2 separate regions of the Homo sapiens genome follow, and region 2 is linked to region 1. The links are contacts of gene promoters, found by promoter capture Hi-C in human tissues and cell types (Jung and others, 2019). All regions are on one chromosome and are shown on one strand. Each heading gives the region's core, a stretch centred on a gene start or on the middle of the fragment in contact. The rest is flanking DNA. Distances are from core to core; before and after follow the strand shown.

Region 1 (3,287 bases), core at 744-3,243:
TGAAGAAATTATAATGGAAAATAGATTTATATGATAGCAAAAGTACCACATTTTAAAACTCGTGGGACACAGCTAGAGTTCTGAGAAATTTATAACCTTAAATACATACTACCAGGTTGCTGCAAAAGTAACTGCGGTTGTTGCCATTAAAAGTAATGGCAATGTGGCCGGGCGCGGTGCCTCACACCTGTAATCCCAGCACTTTGGGAGGCCGAGCTTGGTGGATCACCTGAGGTCAGGAGTTTCAGACCAGCCTGGCCAACGTGGTGAAACCCCGTCTCTACTAAAAATACAAAAAAATTAGCTGGACGTGGTGGTGGGTGCCTATAATCCCAGCTACTCGGGAGGCTGAGGCAGGAGAATTGCTTGACCCTGGGAGGCAGAGGTTGCAGTGAGCCAAGGTCGTGCTATTGCATTCCAGCCTCGGCGACAACAGCAAGACTGTCTCAAAAGAAAAGAAAAAAAGTAATGGCAGTCTAAAAATAAACTAAGCATCCATTTCAAGAAACTAGAAAAAAACCCAAGTATTTTTGAAAAGATTAATAAAATCAATACTGGTGATGGGTACAGTGACCTGTAAAAATAAATGAAAATAATTTTTAAAAAATCAATACTGGTGAGCCTGATGAAGAAAGGAGAGGAGACAAAATATTCAATATCAGGAATGAAAAAATGAACATCACAGATCTTGCATATATGGAAGTGATCATATTATGAACAACTTTATATCAATACATTTGAAATTTTAGGAAATGGATAAGTTTCTAGAAAAAATGTAACAAAATGACAGGAGAAATTAGAAATATAAATAGCCCCGGGCCGAGCGCGGTGGCTCATGCCTGCAATCCCAGCACTTTGGAAGGCCAAGGCGGATGGATCACCTGAGGTCAGGAGTTCAAGACCAGCCTGGCAAACATGGTGATACCCTGTCTGTACTAAAAATACAAAAATTAGCCGGGCTACTGCAGAAATCTAGATGAAGGATGGTGGCTTGGATTAGGATGAGAGGTGAACACAGGAAAAAGTAGTAGGTAAAGCCAACAGAGTATCCTGACAGTTGGATATGTGGTGTAAGGGAACCAGAGTAGAAAAAGGATCACTTCAACTGGAAGATGTTGCCACCAAAAGATAGTTTTCAACCTACTTTCTTATACCTTATGTTCCAAACATCTTCTATTTTTCAAATTATTAAGCACTTTTGTAGCTGATATATAAAATACCGAAATACCAGCCTCAAGCAGTTTAGTTTCCAAATCTTCAGGATAAGAGCTATCTACGTTAACTCCACCTAGGAGAAGAGGATGAGTGTGTAACTCAGGACTGGCCCATGGGCTACGGTAACATCTATACCTCTGTACCTTCTCCACCAGGATCCGGTCTGTCTCTTGCACGCTGGTATCAGGCACTTGCTTGTCCAAGTAACCGACTGGGTAGAGCGAGTCTCCCTGGCCACTGCCCCGGTCACTTCGACCCCTAAAAAACCAAACCAAGAAACTAAAGCTGCAACCTCCGATACTTCTTATCCCACATTTCCTGATCTACCAATCATAGGAATAAAGATCTTCAGATGCACCTACTCAGATTAGACCAAGCCCCCTCGTATGTTCCTCAGTCCTTTGACTTATCAGGAGGACTGATGTAAGCATTGTTTGAGCAGAGAAACTTCCACGGCAGAAAAGCCGCTACCTCCCCAGGTGATGTCTGTGTGCCACCCATCTTTTTCAGAGTTATGCCTGAGGGCTCAGGTCTCATTACTCTGGTGCAGTTCTGGGATGAACAGTGATGTACAGCTTGCCCAGGTGCCTCACCTGCTGCCTCCTCCAGGCCCGCTTAGCTCAATGGCCCACTTGAAGCGCCGGCCTCGGTTAGCCACCAGGCCCCCCTGGGCCGTCATGGCAACAGCTGCGTCCTATAGCCTCGATGCTTCTCAGTCCAAAGCGTACTCCACAACAGGCCCACCAGCGTTCTCCGCTTTGTCTCACTCTGCAAATGCACTTCCGGCGCGTGAATACGACGTCATTTCCGCCCTGGAAATTGGTGGTGCTGTGGGTTGAGGAGTCCGGGTTTGGATTTAGAAAAGCAGGGAGGAAAAAAAACCAGGCAAGACTTAGTGCTTCCTAAAGCCACTTCCGCGCGCTCCCCTTTTGAATGTCCTTGTTATGTGTTCCCTGACCTCTGAGGTGCACTTTATGGGGCTGAAGGAAAGCCCATACTGACTCAGCGTTAAGAATTGGTGGGCGGATCACCTGAAGTCAGGAGTTCGAGACCAGCCTGGCTAACATGGTGAAACCCCGTCTCTACTAAAAATACAAAATATTAGCCGGGCTTAGTGGCGGGCGCCTGTAATCCCAGCTACTTAGGAGGCTGAGGCAGGAGAATCGCTTGGATCCGGGAGCCGGAGGTTGCAGTGAACTGAGACCGAGCGATTGCACGCCAGCCTGGGCAGCAAGAGCGAAACTCTGTCTCAAAAAAAAAAAAAAGGAAGCCAAGAAAAGCTTCTTAACCTCCTACGCGCTCCCTGGAACAAAAGATTCAAATCCTGGGTTTAAATCCTAGCTTGACCTTGAGCGAGTTACTTAGTAGTTTCTGAGTATTGAATGTCCACTGTGTCATGTGTTTATTTCATTTCACTTGCACAGTAACCTTGCGAGGTAAACAGTTCTAACCACATTCTGCACAAAGGCAAGGCAGCATTGTGGGCATGGAAGGGGACATGGGCTCGGTATTCAGTTAGCCTGCGTTTGTTGTTGTTTGTTTTGGGTTTGTTTTTTGAGACAGGGTTTCACTCCGTTGCCGAGGCTGTAGTGCAGTGGCGCTATCACGGCTCACTGCAGCCTCGACTTCCCCGGCTCAAGCGATCTTCCCACCTGAGCGTTCCTTCCAACCTGAGCGTTCCGAGGAGCTAGGACCACAGGGCGCGCCACCACGCCCCAGTCTTGTTTTGTTTTGTTTTGTTTTGTTTTGACAGGGTTTCGCTATGTTGCTCAGGCTGCTCTCAAACTCTTGGGTTCAAGTGATTCTCCTGCCTTGGCCTCCCAAAATGTTGAGATTACAAAGGCATGGGCCACTGCACCCAGCAGATGGCCTCCTTTTGAATCCTGGTTTCACCACTTAATAATTGTATGACCTTGGGCAAGTTGAATTTGTTTCAGCCTCTTCATGTAAAAGTTGGATAATCTACCTACTTTCAAGGCTTGTGAGATTAGTGCCCACCACATATCTGGTGTTTGGTTTGTTTGTGTTTTTGTTCGAGACGGAGTTTTGCTTTTGTTGCCCAGGCTGGAGTG
Region 2 (3,346 bases), core at 801-3,300, 350 kb before region 1:
CGCATGAGGCCTCTTGCCTGTGGTTGTTTTGAGGCACAGACGAGATGCGATATTGAACTGATGCGAGATATTTTATGATAGCAAGGACTCCATGGTGTGGCTTCTCTTATTGTCCTGGGAGTTTTAAGGGTCAGGTTTGTGAGTTACAGCTACGGCCTAGTGAGAGAATGCAGAGGAGGCCTGTCATAAACTCTAAAGGGCTGTTTTAATGTAAGGTGGTGCATCTGTTGTTTTGTGTTTCAAGGATCAAAATTAAGAGAAAAAAATATGTGGTTGAGATACCTGCGTTGAGTGACTGTGGAAATATTTTCATCTCTAGTTGTCTGGAAACGGAAACACTCCAACATTTAAAGATGGTTTTCATGGCGAAACCACTGGAATGAAACACGCATCATCGGGCAATTCTGTGTGTTGAGTTCCATCCCTCTTTGTTTGTCATTTTAAATAATTTCCCTACAAATCCAGAAGGCAGGTCTTGTCTTAACTTCGCGACGAGGAGGCTGGGGACAGGTAGCTGAGCTATGGGTTGCCTAAGAGCACTCTGCTGTGACGGGGCAGTGCTGGCCTTTGAGCCTGAGCTGGAGAGAGTGTGAGGCCCATGTTTTCTCTCTGTCTCCTGCTGGGGCCCATTTTGTATCAGATTTGTTTTTAACGGGGTGGGCATGACTAGGACTTATGACCATTGGTGGGCAAGTACAGGGGCTAATTTTCAACACGTGCTGAGAGACTGATGGCTGGCATCGGAGAGTTATGGAAATGCCACAGATGACGTGAGCTCTTCACAGCGATGGGGAAAGGGCGTGGGAGCTTGCCCTCCAGGAAGGTGGCTAACATGGTTGGTGGGACACTAAGGTGTTTTCCATTTTGCACTTGAAGCCAACATGGATTCTTAGCACTTCTTGTCCCTAGAATCAACTGTGCAGAGAGACGCTTGGTTGTGAAACTCTCAGGCAAAGACAGTTCTGAGGAAACTTACTAGTAAATAGTGAGTCAGAGAACACTACTGACATTTAGGATTTTCAGTTGAGATACATATGTACTGTCATGCATCACATGACATTGTTTTTGTGAGTGATAGCGTATATGACAGAGGTCCCATAAGAATATCATGGGGCTCAAAAATTCCTATTGCCTAGTGACATTGTCGTAAAGTTGTAGTGCAGTTACTTTATTTTTTAAAAAAATGTAGCCTAACTGTACAATGTTTATAAAGTCTGCACTAGTGTACAGACTGACTCACCGGAGCAACTTCCATTCATGGAAGGTCCATTCATAGAAAGTGCCCTAGACAGGGGCACCATGTTTTATCTTTTATAGCATATTTTAACTTTGTGCCTTTTCTATGTTTAGATACACACCTTCAGCACAGTAACATGCTGCCTAGGTTTGCAGCCTAGGAGCAGTAGGCTGTACCCTATAACCTAGTGTGTTGTAGTAGGTTTGTATAATGTATGCTCTATGATGTTCTCATAATGATGAAATTGCCTAATGATAAATTTCTCAGAATACATCCCTGTCATTAAGTGACGCATCTGTGTGTGTGTGTGTGTGTGTGTGTGTGTGTGTGTGTGTGTGTGTGTGTGTGTATGATATATAATTTTTTTCATTTGGTTGGTTTGGCATTCCTGGAATTGATTCTCCAGCAAGGCAGCTCTAAATATGGATTCCTCTGAACTGTTGTATGTGTTCTTAATTTAATAAACAAGTATCGTTTATGGTTTCCCGCAGTTGGTTTGATTATCAGCTGTCTTGGAAAAATCTATTGTTTCAAAAATAGTAAAGCCACTAGTTGAGTAACCGCATGCATTTAGGGATGATGGATTTCTCAGGTCTCTCTGGAAGCAAGTGTGTGCATTGTGCAATTAAAACACAGTTTCTGTTTCTCAGTCTTTTGGTGTAATAAGTGAGCCATGTGCTCTAGCATCTGTCTGAATTATCCGGAGCTGGTGGCAGCTGTCACGGGTGTGGTGCAGTGGGGCCAGGCATGTGTTAGGAACTGGAAGCTCTGGGAAGCCAGGCTCTGCCTGCACGTGTGAGCCAGCTGTAGAGCGTCACTGCTCAGAGTTTGTCTTGACTCATCCCAAGAAGGGCACGTGGAGGTCTGTGTCCCATTCCTCACCAGCCACTGAGTTATTATGGATGGAGGAGATGAGATGTGTGCAACTGTTCTGCTACAGGAAAGCAGTCAGTCAGTGCAGTCACCAGGGTTAGGATGTGTGAGTGTTTTACCAACCTGCCTGCTGGGTTTCAGACACTTGGCACTACCTCCAGCCTCTAACTGATTCTGGCTGGTACGCGTGAAAGCTGTCAGCTGAGTGATGAATGGACCGATTTTGGCCACAGGTCCCTGCACTTCCCACCTGGCCTGACTGCTAGATTCTGAGCCCCTGAGGCAGGACTGAATGGGTCACATTGATGGTTGATTCTCTCGGGAATGGCATTGGGTGAAATCGAGGTTTTCCTGACCCACAGCTCCTACTAGAAGTGCCTTTCTTTTGTGCATGTATTGTGAAGATTCTGCCTGTGAACTTTCTCTACCCTTTGAGTCCTAAGGTTCAGGTACCTGGAGAGGAGCATGTCATCGTTTTGCAGGTGGGATGTGTGGTTGTTGGGGAAGACGTCTTTGTGCTGTGTTGGGTTGGAAGCTTTGAGAGCAGAAGCCCCTCCAGACCAAGAACTCCTGATTGTGTCTTTCCCTTGGGCTTTCGCAGTTTTCAGCTTCTAAATTAATTGCATTTTATTAAGTAATGGTTTTCTTCTTGATCACAGGCGTGCCTGTGCTTAATCAGCACTGAGGACTGGTGCTACTTCAGTTGATTTGATACACCTAGAGGCAGCCTCATCTCCAACTTGTCTTGACTTCATTTGGGGAGCTGCCGTGGGGGACCCCTGGACTGGCAGCATTCCCACCCCTCACTTTGGCAACCCTGGCCTAACTCCTTGTATGTGTTGCTCCTTTTATCCATCACATAGGGTGGCTTAATCTAATAGTGGAAACAAAGGGGTGCGGGACGCTAACCTGGTAGGTCTCACCTTGCCCGTCCCGTCATTCACCTCTCAGTCCTTTGACACTCAGGGACTCTGCAGTGGTACAACCGGGAGCAGGTACCCTTCACTTTTCTTACCCCCGAGTCCCTTTGCCTGGAGCACTGTCCATCTATCCACCCATGCACTCAGTAGGTATTTTCCAAGCAGCTACTATATTCCAGCTTTCTTGTTCCCAGTTTAGAGCTGGGTGGGATCAGGAGGGAGGGCATGGAAGGGGTTGCTGGAGAATGTGCAATGGCATCAGAGCCCCATTCTGGCTCTGGGTCCAAGGCCCTCCTAGAGAGGCACAATCTGGAAG

The links. Contacts are between HindIII fragments. The study calls those that stand out against the background at their distance.
Region 2: a fragment that was not itself captured here is called in contact with the fragment with the promoter of EMC4 in region 1 in 1 of the 25 tissues and cell types used here (lymphoblastoid cells).

Annotation. Positions count from the first base shown.
Region 1 is chr15:34,223,722-34,227,008 of GRCh38, reverse strand. It overlaps EMC4 (ER membrane protein complex subunit 4), which reads right to left and starts at 1,993. Exons shown (of 5, transcript NM_016454.4): 1 at 1,809-1,993; 2 at 1,359-1,473. The coding sequence starts at 1,894. RefSeq lists an enhancer at 1,630-1,679. The HindIII fragment of the contact is 15,250 bases long and covers 1-3,287 here.
Region 2 is chr15:34,575,748-34,579,093 of GRCh38, reverse strand. The region is part of intron 1 of GOLGA8B (golgin A8 family member B); the gene reads left to right. Among named protein-coding and RNA genes, the nearest start is that of GOLGA8B, 6.2 kb to the left of the region's middle. The HindIII fragment of the contact is 3,792 bases long and covers 155-3,346 here.